Linked DNA regions of Homo sapiens: region 2 is linked to region 1. Evidence: promoter capture Hi-C in 16 types of primary human blood cells and fetal thymus (Javierre and others, 2016). All regions are on one chromosome and are shown on one strand. Each heading gives the region's core, a stretch centred on a gene start or on the middle of the fragment in contact. The rest is flanking DNA. Distances are from core to core; before and after follow the strand shown.

Region 1 (6,498 bases), core at 1,362-3,861:
ATGAGATACAAGTGGGAGTGATATGGGGAAGGGAGAATGTTTCCACATACAACACTTGACAAATGCTACTGTATGAGAACTAAACCTGTATATATACTTCAGGGCTGTTCTTACTGATATAGAATATTGTGGGGTTTTTCACTGTTTTCGTTATTGGGTTCTTCCCCCTTCCATCTGTTTAATATAATTGCCCTCTTCATTTTTCTCTATCTATTAATCAGTTACCAACAAAAACAAGTAGTAAAAATGAAACAAACTAGTGTGGTTCTATAAATGTCTAAAACAATTTGACTATACGAAAAATAGAAGCCTAGGATAATAGGGCAGGAGGTAGAGGGAGTCATTCAGAAATATGCGAAGTCTTTAACAGCTTTAAGTAAACAATTTCAGAACTTGAAAACAATTATCTGAAAAAGTATAAATGAAAATGTTAATCATGTTTTTATATTGCCCAAAAAGTAACAAATAAAATGTTCCCTTTCTAGTTTTAGGAAAACTATGTTCAAACAAAAGAAACTTTTCCTAAAATAAACCTCACCAGACCAGTTTCATATGGCTTTGCTACCTCAGAATTTAAGTCAAAAATCTTAAGGCTAACATTTATACACTTGAATACTTTCTTCCTAAAGCAACTACAAATAGACAACAAAACTACAAATTTAAAACATTTGGGAAGAAAAGCGTTGCATAAACTGACAAAAACCTCCTATACAAACAGCAAATATTTTCAAAAGAATTTTTGATTTCTAGTTCTAGCATACAAGAATATAACTTGTTTGGGTTCAGAATAAAAATATCATGTACATATTTTAGTTCTTATATACTCCTGTGAAAAAACACCCCTTATCTAAAACTGCATCCTCTCATTCCGCATTATTTTTCTTCATAGCATGAACTGATAACTAACATTATAGTATATGCTTAGTTGTTTATTATGTTTCTCCCTTTAGAGCAAGCAGGGACTTTTTGCTCATTAATGTGTTCCAATAACCCAGAATAGTGCCTGGCACACAGTAAATGGTCCATAAGAATGCATTGTGGAATAAATGCATTAGCAAGAACCAGTTTATAAAAATAGTGTCAAATAAAAATAATTTTCTGTTAATTTAGAAACTTAAAATTTGAGCCCCAATCTTCAACGTTCAGTTAAAAAATGTGAAATTTTTTTCTAGTTCAGGATTTATGTAAATAAAATCATGAAGGTTCTAAAAGATGATGAATTTGGCACTTTCATTATGTAAATCTTTTTTTAAAAAAGAAACACAGGTCCTAAAAGGGACCTTGCTACAGTTCAGTATGAGTTTGTGATGTGAGGGGATGCTATTTTAAATTAATTAAAGTTCTAGGTTTAGATTCAGATTTTTTAAGTTCCTATTATTTATTATTAAAGTTTTAGTTTCAGCACGTGGCACAAAATTAGATTGCCAAACACAATAAACAATATCATCCCAGGTAGTTTTAAGTGTCTGCTCTGCTATAATCACTGTTAAAATACTTAAGCTATTTTTGAGTCTACATAATTTGCGGTGCCGACCTTCTCTAGTTATATTAATGACAATCTCTAGTTAAATATTAATACAACTAGATACAATTAATCTTTAGTTATATTAATGACAATTCACCATTTTGTCTTCTGTAATCTTTACTTATTGTATAAAATTATTGTATACAATTATTGTATAAACTTATTGTATAAAATTGCAGGCCTATTACTTCTTACAATTTTTACTCAGAAACATACTCCTTATTTTAAAAGTACAGAAACTCAGATAAAAATTATTGATTTGCTAGAAATTTTTGTGAGTTAAGGAAGAAGTAGGGACCAACATTTACGGGAATAACCGACCGTCACAAATAACTGCAGAGAATCTGACAAAGAAGGAAAAATCAACGGGAACAAATTACTCCGAGGCTCGGCCTGGGAAAGGACCATACAATTGTCGGAGCCCCAGATCTCACCCCCTCTCCCCAGGCACCAACAGGGCTGGCTGGAAGGGTCCGGCTGGGGACCGAATCAGCACCTAAAGCAAAATAACAGCTCTGTGGATTTCCTAAGGAGAATATCCTAAATCCAAGGCAGAGGCCTTAGGGCCCCGAGAGTGGCACAAGAACGGGGCGCTGGGGCGCGTCACTCCACCCCCCGGGTCCCGTTTCCTCCCACCGCTGTGAAACCCGCGGCTCAGACAGATGGGTACGTCCCCCCCAGCGCTCGCTCAGGGGGCGCCACACACCGGAACACAAGACACAGGAACCGAACACCAATCAGCCGACTTTAGGGGCGGGCCGGACGCCCAGCCGGTCCCACCTCGCGGGGAGCTGGGCCCGCCCTGCGCCCGAGCGCGCCGCAGGCCTCACCGCTTTCTGACTGGAAATGCGGCTGAGGCGCTGGCGCGGGCCGGCGGCCTGGAGACGCCTGGTGACCAACAACTCGCCGCGCCCGTCCGCTGCCTGCCCGGCAGACGGCTCTAGAGATCGACCGCTGCCCGGACGGCTCGGCTGGGTCCCCACTTCCCCGCGGGCGTCGGGCCCCCGTCCCCACCTTCCCCGCGGGCGTCCGGGCCCCTCTCCTCACCTCCCTGCGGACAGCTCCTAGGCCAGTCGAGCGCCGATTTATCAGCCCCTCTGAGGACCGCCAAGCCTGGCTAAGCCGAGCTCCAAGCAATGGATCGCCCAAGCCCCCAACCTCTCCCTTCCTACCTTTTTTTCTCCGAAAGTTTATAACTGGTTTTGAATATATCTCTTGCAGTTTACTGTGTCTATTCTCTTTAAATACAGCTCCTAATCCTGGGTTCTAAGGGTCTACTAAATGGTACCCTTTCCCTAAGCTAACCTGCTTCTCTACCCCCACAACCACCACTCCACAAACATACCCCAACCTGCCTTTCTCATCAAAGTTAGCCAGGCCTCAGCTCTGGGACTTCCGGTCTCTTCGTACCTAAAAAGTGTTTTACCTATATTATTTATAAAATATCACAGTGGCACTCATGAGGTCGGTATTACTGGGGAACTTGATTCAGAAATAAAGTTAAATTTCAGAAATAAATATTCTAAAACACAATGATATTTAAATGTGTTTAGCCAACATGAATTTATAAAAACAGGGCAATAATGTGTTCTTAGGCTGTAAACATGAACAAACTATAAATTATCCTTTTAAGTTTCTTTAGAATTGTCCTCTGAAGATTTGGCAGGGAATGTTTTGTAGATGATAAAATAGCAACGAATCAATGATGCTTTTCTTACAGAGACATTTATCTTTCCTTTGGAAACCCCCACCTGTGACATCTAGGGCCAACCTACTGCTGTCTGACTGCCCTATTCCTGTTCTCTTTTTTCTTGCAGTTCTACTGTTCATTAGCTATATGACCTTGGAAAAGACCCAACCTTTAAGTCTTAATTCTGCATCCTCAGTGATACTCATAAGCTCTAACTCCTAGATACTGCTGCAAGGGTTAAATAAAATAATATTTGCAGTAGTCCTACCACACAGTAAATGCTCATGAATATTAATTTCTTTCACCTTCTCTGAAATGTAAAATTATTCCAGTAATTGGGTGAGCCAGTTATTTGGATACTGATAAAATAACAAGTCTTTGTCTCTTGGAGAAAATAACATTTTGACTGCATAAACTATTCTTAATAGAAAGGTTGAATTATCATTCCTCTCAAAAATACTGGAGAGGAAAGTTACTTTCCATAGACTGCATAGAGGAAAATAACGAAACAGTGCATTTGTTATAGTGAACCCCTCAATGTGTTGAAATTCATACATTGAATTCTAACCCCCGATGTGATGATATTTGAACGTGGGACTTTTGTGAGGTAATTAACTCAAAAGGGTAGAGCCTTCATGAGTAGGATTGTGCCCTTTTAAGAGGCCAGAGAGTTAGCTCGCTCTTTTCCTACCATGTGAGGATACAGGAGGACGGTATCTGCAAGCCAGGAAGGAGGCCCTCGCCAAATACCGGATCTGCCTGCACTGTGATCTTGGACTTCTCAGGCACCAAAATTGTGACAAATGTTTGTTGTTTAAGCCACCCAGCCTATGGTAATTTGTTATAGCAGCTTGAACTAAGATAGGGTTTGAGTGATAGAATTGTAGAATTCAGCAACAGGCAGGTACAGGGGAGTCTTACTGTCAAAGCACACAGTAGCAAATGGCCACCATGTTCATAAACAAAAACATTCATTCATTCACTCACTCATTTATTCAAGAATGCATGTGGAATCTATAGAGCCTTACTTTCTCTTAAAATAATGTAATAAAAATGTCAAAGCTGCAGTTTTTAAAAGGAAGCCTCAGGACAGTGATAAAGTTACTAAAAATCCCATTTTGGGGGGAGGGATTACCATGGTTTTTAGTAATGTTGCCACATTTCTCAAGAAAACATTTTAATCCTAAAGATTTAATTTTACAACCAGTGCAACAATGTCATAAGCAATCCTCCAAATTGAATAACATAACTAACATTTGAAATATAGTCTTCCCGGTCAACTTCTGGCATGACTGCATAAAGAGCTTTGCTACCTCACTTCTCAGTGAAACTGGTGAAAATTCTAGAAAAATGACTCAGACCCTCTGGAAATGATCCTAAGGGCAAACAGCAAAAGAAGAAACATCTTTTCAAGAAAGAGATACAAAAATTTGGTAAGAAAGGCAAGGCTCTGTGGTATTTTATCCAAGACTCCCAAGTTCCAGCTTAGCAAGACAGGCTCCATTCTAGACAGCTGCAGCCAAGAATACAGAGCTCTCTCTGCACCCAGCTCCCACTAGAAGGCGCGCTTTCTTTCTTTCATTGTGGTAAAACATGCGTAATATTTATAATTTTAACCATATATAAGTGTATAATTCAGGGACATTAAATACACTCATAGTGTTGTATAACCATCACTCTTATCCATACCCAAAACTTTTTCATTATCCCCAACAAGAAATTTGTGCCCATTCAGGGAGGGGAACTTCACACACTGGGGCCCGTTGGGGGGTGAGGGGCTGGGGGAAGGATAGCATTGGGAGAAATACTTAATGTAAATGACGAGTTGATGGGTGCAGCAAACCGACATGGCACATGTATATCTATGTAACAAACCTGCACGTTGTGCACATGTACCCCAAAACTTAAAGTATAAGAAAAAAAAAAAGAAATTTCTGCCCATTAAACAGGAACTCCTTCTTTTCCCCTTTCCCTAATTCCTGGTAACCTCTATTCTACTTTCTATTTCTATGAGTTTACCTATCCTAAGTACTTCATATAAGTGGGATCATACAATATTTGTTCTTCTATTTCTGGATTATTCACTTAGCATAATGTTTTCAATGTTCATCCATGTTGTAGCATGGATCAGAATTTTACTCCTTTTTAAGGCTCAATAATATTCTATTGTATTTATATACCACATTTTGTTTATCCATTTGTAATCCTGGCTAAGGGACATTTGAGTTGTTTCCACATTTCCACCTTTTGGCTATTGTGAATAATGCTTCTATGAACATTCGTGTGTAAATATCTCCGTTCAAGTCCCTGCTTTCAATTCCTTTGGATATGTACCTAGGAGTGGAATTGCTGGGACATATGGTAATGCTATTACAGCCAATGCCATGAGTTCTAGCTGATGTATCCAACATAACCAAAATTTTCTTCACTTTGTAACATCCACATCTTTTACACCCTGATTAGTCAGTAGAAATTGATATTGAAAAATTAGTCTCAGGCTGGGCAACACAGCGAGACTTCATCTCTACCAAAATTTTAAAAACTAACCAGGTGTGGTGGTGTGTGCCTGTAGTCCTAGCTGCTTGGCAGGCTGAGGCAGGAGAATGGCTTGAACCAAGGAATTCCAGGCTGCAGTGAGCTGTGATCCCACTACTGCACTCCAACCTGGGCAATAGAGCAAGATCCTGTATCTAAAAAAGCAAGAAAGAAAAAAGAAAAATTAGTGTTGATGGCTCTAGAGAAGCAGGAACCAAGAAATGTTGAGGTTTCAAGACTATTTTTCTGCAGATGACAGCCAGAAATGTGTTGTGTTTTTTATTGTCAGATTTGGACAAGAAACAGTGAAGAGATCATTTGGGAAGAATCTGAGAATTACAAAATTAATTTCTGAGAAAAAAACAGAAAAAAAGGAAATAAAGGTAGTTTGATATGATGGGATTCTCAGGAGGAAAGAAAAGTTTAGGGAGTTAGGGCCAATTCAGTAGATACTTAAATAACAAAAGGAAGACTGAATTAAGCACAAACCAAAAAAAAAAAATCTTTCTGTTCTTTCTTTCTTTTTCTTTGTTTCTCTTTTCTTTCTTTCTTTCTCTTTTCTCTCTTCCTCCCTTCCTCCCCTTCCTTCCTTCCCTCCCTCCCTCCCTTCTTTTTTCCCCTTCCTTCCTTTCTTTCCCTCTTTCTTTCTCTTTCTTTTCCTTCTTTCTTTCCTTCCTTCCTTCTTTCCTTCTTTCTTTCTTTCTTTCTTTCTTTCTTTCTTTCTTTCTTTCTTTCTTTCTTTTTCTTT
Region 2 (7,369 bases), core at 2,234-4,733, 120 kb before region 1:
TAGAAACATGAGTTACTTCCTACTGCCAGCAAAATCAATTCCATCTTCAAGGTCCTGCATGATCCAATTCCAGCTTCCCTTCCTGGGACCCATATTAGCCCTACATCCATCAAAACACATTCAATTGCCATTCTTCAAATAGTTCCATGCCTTTTTATAACTGTAGCTTTGATACTATCTCTTGTCTTAGAAGACCCTCATTTCCTTGCCCAACAGATGCCTACCAACCTTCAAGTCTGACTCAAATGGCACCTCTGGGTTGGAGGTCTATGGTGATCACCTGATCTGATTTCCCTCTCCTTTGGGCCCCTGTGGCATTTTCTCTGTGCCTCTTGCTTACTGTATGCTGCCTTATATTGAATGTATTTACAGAAAAAACATAGTGGTGAAGTACAGGGAACACTAAAATAGAAAAAAAATGAGCTCTAATATAGGCTCTTATTTGGGAAAAAAGATTTAATATCTGTTCTGTTTACCTCACAGAGACGTAAAAATAAAATGTAATTTAAGTATGTAAAAACAATTGACAATTAAGTGATAAACAAATATATTAATGTATATATTATATCCGCTATCTCTACTATTACATCAATCCAAGATTAAACAAATAAATTTTAAACTAAAATTGTTCTGAATGCTGTGAAGGAGTGGTACATCATGCTATGTGGTAACAGGTGAAGCTGTTCTGGTCAGGAACGTTGGGCTGAGCACTGAAGAAAGAAGGGAAGTTAAGAAGGCAAAGAAGGAGGAGAAATTAGAGTTCAGGCAGAGGGGATAGCATATGCTAAAGCTCTATGACAAGGAAAAGCATGGCACATTGGGGAAACTGAAAGGTCAATATGACTGATGCTAGCAAATATGAGAAAGTATGTAAGATGAGACTATAGTGGTAGTAAAGGCAGCCTATGTTTGTAGGGGAACAGTTCCACCATGGCACCATGGCAATTGCATATCTCCATATAGGCCATGTAGGTAAGACTCAACTGTTGGCAGAATGCCCCATGATCATCCTTAAAAATGGCAAGATAGGTAGTCTTGTGAGGAGCTATCAAAGGCCATTTCACATTTGCTCCATACCTTGCAGAAGACCCTCGATCTTGCAGAAGACTTGCCATGCGGCAGTTTCTCATCTGCCTCCCTGATTCCACTAAGGTATGGAACTTTCCATTTTGCCCCTTTCAGATAAAACTGCTTAGCTGAAGCCTAGAGTTCACTTCTCAAAAACAAAGCAACCCACCACTCATGTTGTCTGTCATCTGACCCCCCTAGTTTGGTATCATCCTGTGGAATTGGGGATGTAAGCAGCTAATACCATGCTGATCTTGCTTTGCCATCTGTGTAAGTAATAAACTGTTTAAATCCATTAGGGTGTCCTTACCAGCCAAATCTACAGAAGTGAGGCAAGACCACATAGCAGCTACCACTACATTGCTGCTTAGGGACTGGTTGACCATGTGACCATATAGAACCTTCTAGGGGATGCTAATGATTTAGATTCTAAGAGCTATGGGAAGCCACTGAAATGTTTTAACCGAAGAGGGGGCACAATCAGATCTGCATTGTGAAAAACGTCACCATATAGAGTGTAATATGGAGAACAGATTTGAGATAAGACAGAAAGGATGCAAGAAAACCAGTACAAGTCTAAGCAGAAATCATGGTAACTCCAGAGTGGTGGTGGTAGTAGAGTTACAGAGAATAGACTGATTTGAGAGATATACAGAAGGTAAAAATATTTTTAATGCAGAATCAAGTGGAGTGGTTTTCTTTCTTGAGCAGCATATTGCTTCCCCTGAAGTTTTGCAGCCTTCCTTTTTGTCTAGCAATATCCATCTTGTTTCTTTAAGTTCACTCAATAGTTGAAGGGTAAAAGCAAATACATGGGAATACCTCACCCATTTATTCCCCCCTCATCAATGCCTCCTTCCTTGAACCCTCTATCTGCCTCCTAATGCAATCTAGACCTGTCCTGTAACTGTCACCTTTGAACTTCCTTTCATTAAGTTCCTGGGCTGAATCTACTACAAATGGATTCTTGGGCTTTTTCTTTCTTGTTTTACTGGTGCTCAATTTTGAGCAACTGCCTAAGAAAGGATGTATAAGAATAAAATTTTCTGAATCTTTGAATGTATTAAGGCATCTTTATATTACTTTCATACTTAGTAGTTTGGCTGGGCATAGAACATAAGGTTGAAAATCATTTTTCCCTTGGAATTTTATTTTTTATTATTACAGTTTTGGAGACAGGGTCTCGCTCTGTCACCCAGGCTGGAGTGCAGGTGTGAGACCACAGCTCACCGCAGCCTCGAACTCTTGGGCGCACGCACTCCTGCCTTCTCATTCTTCCAAGTAGCTGAGATTACAGGCACAAACCACTGTGCCTGGCTTCCCCCTGGAATTTTAAATCAATTGACTTTTAGCATCCAACATTGCTCACTAAAAGACTATTACATTTTTAAATTTTTGTGCCTCGTAAGCATTTACAATTTTGTCTTTATCCACAATGTTCTGAAATATTGCAATTAGCTTTATTTGTAGACCTTTCATTCATCCTAACTAGCATTAAGTAAGACTTTTTAATGTGAAGATTTCTGTCTCACTTCAGTTCTGAAAACGTTTCTCAAATTATTTCTTCTGATTTGTTTGTTCTTTCTTGAACACTTATAAGTTAGATACTGGGTTCTTAAATTGCCCCCCTTTTCTCTTATATTTTCTGTCTCCTTGACTTTTTGCTTTCATTGAGAAGGTATTGACTTTATGTTCGAGACCTCCGGTTTTCCTTCCAAACATAATTTTTGCTTCTCTGTGCTTGCTCTGGTTCTTTTTATTTTAAAATGGCATCCTATTCAGTTTTGTGGTTGCAATTTAATCTTTAATTTCTCGGACGTTACTAAAGTTTTATATTAGGTTTTATTACATTCCTGAATTATCCTGTTGCTCTTTCATCCATTTTCTATTTCCTTATTTTGGACTTTCACACATTCTACATTTTCCTAAAATGTCTCATCACCCTTGGTTGTCTGCCTATAAGGTTCCTATTATATCTCCATTTCACCTATGAGAAAATTAATTCTTACAGAGGTTAAGTAAGATGCTCAAGACTATGCTGTTAGTAAGTAGCAAATTTGAGATTCTAATTCAAGGTAGTCTAATTCCAGAGACTGATCTATCAACAATTCTCTCTCTAGTTGTACCAGTTGCTTTAGCTCTCCCAGAGGATTCATTTAAGTTATTTAGAGAAGGAACCTTTGTTTTGAGGTGGGAAGACTTGGAAGAAAAGCTTTGCAAGTTGCTGTTTTAAAATGAAGAATAAAGAGTTGCCTTTGGGTCTTAAATACTAAAGAACTTCTAAAAAAGATGCATGTCTAAACGCTGCCACAAGGTGGTGCACAATGACTAAGCACATTTGCTCCCAGTGGCAGCAACTAGGATCTGGGACTCTAATTAGAGAGATTCCGAGGGCTCCCAAAAATTTCAAGGCAAAGTTGGCAAGTCTTGTCAGGAATGAGGACTGTATGCAAGTTTTGTTTGTTTGTTTATAGAACACTAGCACATGGATACTACCTGACGAAATCTTTTTGCTGTATTTTTGTTACGAATGGTACTTTGAAAATAAAAGTGCTCCCTTTACCCTGCCGCCCTCCCTACCTCCTGAGAATTGTCTGAATTTATCTTATTAGCAAATATAAGCTTACAGATATTGGTAATTAGAAAGATAAGGTTCTCAGAAAAAAAATAATCTAAGCTGTACTCTTCTGAGAAAAAGTCTGGCTCTATCACCTAGGCAGGAGTGCAGTGGCACCATCACGGCTCACTGAAACTTCAGCCTCCCAGGCTCAAGTGATCCTCCCAACTCAGCCCCCTCAGTAGCTGGGACTACAGGCATGCACCACCACACCCAGCTAATTTTTGTATTTTTTGTAGAGACAGGGTTTGTAAAGACCAGCCATGTTGCCCAGGCTGGTCTCGAACCTGTAAGTTCAAGCAATCCACCCACTTCGGCCTCCCAAAGTGCTGAGACTACAGGTGTGAGTCACTGTGCCCAGCCTAAGCTGCACTCTTAAGTATACTCTAAAGATAGCAGATTCCATATTCCATCACTGTCATAATCTGAGGTGCAAATATTTTCATAGTTTTGCCACATATTGTATTAATTTACATGTTATAAAGTCTCTAGTTCCAAGCATTTAAAGTAAATTTATTAATAATATCAAATAGAAATGTATTGAAAGAAAATACTTAAAATTACTTTAACAGAGTCATTAACAGGTGGCGGGGCAAGGGTCACTTCTTTAAAAAAAGAAGTCCAGACAATAAATAAAAAATAGCAAGAATCTCTGTCACACTTAGCATAACTTTCTAATTATAAATTCAAATAATTTGGTCTGTGCAGAAGCTACTGGAGTATTTTTTTAGTATTACTTTCACTTTTGCAGTTCTCCATTTATGCTAATCATAGATTTATGCAATTCATGGTTTTACTTTTTTTAATGATGAGAGAGTCTCCTTTTCATTTTTCTGTCAAATATTTTACTATCATTTTGTTATTTATTTATGCAGAAAAGGAATACACTGAACTGGAGTCCTTGATTTTGCAACTTAATGCACATACACACCAAAGAATATAAAGAAAAGTAGACTGCCTTTTAACTAGTATTTAAATGTACACACAATGTGCCTGAGGACTGGCTTTATCCTTGTATTCATTCAACTACATTAATTATTATTATTATTATATTATTATTATTTTTTTTTTGAGATAGAGTTTTGCCTTTGTTGCCCAGGCTGGAGTGCAGTGGTGCAATCTCAACTCACTGCAACCTCCGCCCAAGGCTCAAGTGATTCACCTGCCTCAGCCTCCCGAGTAGCTCGTATTACATGGGATTACAGGTGCCTGCCACCATGCCCAGCTAATTTTTGTATTTTTAGTAGAGATGGGGTTTCACCACATTGGCCAGGCTAGTCTGGAATTCCTGACCTCAGGTGATCTGCCTGCCTTCGGCCTCCCAAATTGTTGAGATTACAGGTGTGAGCCACTGTACCTAGCTCCAAGACATTCATATTCAGAATAATACTGCAAATGAAGATAAATGTATTAATGTCAAATAGATTTTCTTCAAATTAAGCAAAGCCTGTAATTCTTATTTAGAATGCATTTAAAGGATAAGAAGTTTAAATGCCTAATCTTCATATACTGAGAGCAGGCCTGAAAATTTTTTAATTTTTGTTTTTACAACTTAAAAATATGTCTCACATTGCCATATATTAAAAATAACAAAAATGTTCTTCCTCAAATTATACAAGAATTTTATCTCTTGGAACTATAACCATATGTGAGAAACTGCAGCTAAAAGAATGTTTTCAAAAAGTTTGATATGGTTTGGCTGTGTCCTCACCCAAATCTCATCTTGATTTGCAGCTCCCATAATTTCCACATGTTGTGGGAGAGACCTGGGGGAGATAATTGAATCATGGGGGCAGTTTCCCCCATACTGTTCTTGTGGTAGTGAATAAGTCTCACAAGATTTGATGATTTTATAAGGGGTCTCTCCTTTCGGCTGGCTCTCATTCTCTCTTGTCTGCCACCATGTAAGACGTGCCTTTCACTTTCTGCCATGATTGTGAGGCCTCCCCAGCCACGTGGAACTGTGAGCCCATCGAACCTCATTTTCTTTATAAATTACCCAGTCTCAGTTATGTCTTTATCAGCAGCATGAAAACGGACTAATATAAGTTGTAGAAAGCATGAAAAGAATTTTTCATTATTTTATATTCCCTAAGGTGCATGTTTTTGTTTTTATATATAGTCCTATAATTTGATGATATACAAAATTGAAACATTTGTTCAACTTGAAAGCATATTTGGAAATAGCCATTTAGCAATTATATTCTCTGAACTAAATATCAGTTTGTATCATTTAATAACACCATTTGACAAGGGATTAGAACAACTGAAATTTGGATTGTTTTGAAAAGGCCCAAATTTGGTGTCACAGCCTTAGTAGGGTAATCTATTGCCCCTTAATTGTGTCAGTTACTAAGAAAGAGTGTATGTATGTTAGGTTTAGAGGTATAATTGTGTATCTTTATCCAGGGATATATAAATTTGCATATAAAAATTGAATTGTACAATACGGATGTGCATAAGTTCCTAAGATTTGGATGATTACATACAGTAGCCCCCTTCATCCATGATTTTGCTTTCCACAGTTTCAGTTACCCAAGGTCAACTCTGGTCCGAAAATATTACATGAAAATTTTCAGAAATAAATATTTCATAAGTTTTAAATTGTACATCATTCTGAGTAGCATGATAGAATCTCAGGCTGTCCCACTTCACTCTGTCCTGGATGTGAATCATTCCTTTGCCCAGCATATCCAGGCTGTATATGCTACCCACCCCTTAGTCACTTGGTAGGTGTCTCAATGATCAAATCGACGGTCATGGTATCACAGTACTTGTGTTCAAGTAACCCTTGTTTTACTTAGTAATGGCCCCAAAGCACAAGAGTAGCAATGCTGGCAATTTGGATGTGCCAAAGAGAAGCTGTAGTTTCCTTTAAGTGAAAAGGTGAAAGTTCTTGACTTAATAAGGAAATTATATATATAGAGTTCAGTACTACCCACAACAGAGAAATATCAGCACCCCTAGAAACTATCTTTCTGTCCTATTCTAGTCAACTTTGTCAAGAGTAATCTTTATCTTGACTTTTAACAGCACAGATTAGTATATTAGTTTTCTAGGGTGGCTATAACAAAGTACCACACACTGGATGGCTTAAAACAACAGAAATTTATTCTTTCACAGTTCTGAAGATTAAAAGTCTGAAATAAGTTGCTGGCAGAGCCATACTCCCTCTGAATTCTCTAGGAGAGGATCCTTCCTCAACTCTTCCAGTTTCTGATAGCTCTAGACATTTCTTGGCTTGTGGGAGCATAACTATAATCTCTGCCTCTGTCTTTGCATGGCTGTCTTTCCTCTGTATTGGTATTCTTATGGAGTTTTCTTGGTGTCTGTGTCTTTTTGCCTTTTCATATAAGGACACCAGTCATATTGGATTAGGATGCAGTCATATTGGATTAGGGTCCACCTTAACTTGATTATATCTGTAAACTCTATTCCAGATAAGATCACATTCACGACCGAGGAGCCAAGATGGCCGAATAGGAACATCTCCAGTCTACAGCTCCCAGTGTGAGCGACGCAGAAGACGGGTGATTTCTGCATTTCCATCTGAGGTACCGGGTTCATCTCACTAGGGAGTGCCAGACAGTGGGCACAGGTCAGTGGGTGCAGTGCACCGTGCGCCAGCCGAAGCAAGGCGAGGCGTTGCCTCACTCGGGAAGCGCAAGGGGTCAGGGAGTTCCC

The links. The method cuts DNA at HindIII sites, captures the fragments that hold promoters and counts their contacts. A CHiCAGO score of 5 or more calls a contact.
Region 2: a contact is called between a fragment that was not itself captured here and the fragment with the promoter of HFM1 in region 1, in 2 of 17 cell types (megakaryocytes and erythroblasts). The highest score is 5.6, in megakaryocytes.

The regions. Positions count from the first base shown.
Region 1 is chr1:91,402,226-91,408,723 of GRCh38, forward strand. It overlaps HFM1 (helicase for meiosis 1), which reads right to left and starts at 2,612. Exons shown (of 39, transcript NM_001017975.6): 1 at 2,573-2,612. RefSeq lists a silencer at 2,207-2,586. The HindIII fragment of the contact is 14,376 bases long and covers 1-6,498 here.
Region 2 is chr1:91,279,505-91,286,873 of GRCh38, forward strand. The region is part of intron 30 of HFM1 (helicase for meiosis 1); the gene reads right to left. Among named protein-coding and RNA genes, the nearest start is that of HFM1, 120 kb to the right of the region's middle. The HindIII fragment of the contact is 410 bases long and covers 3,279-3,688 here.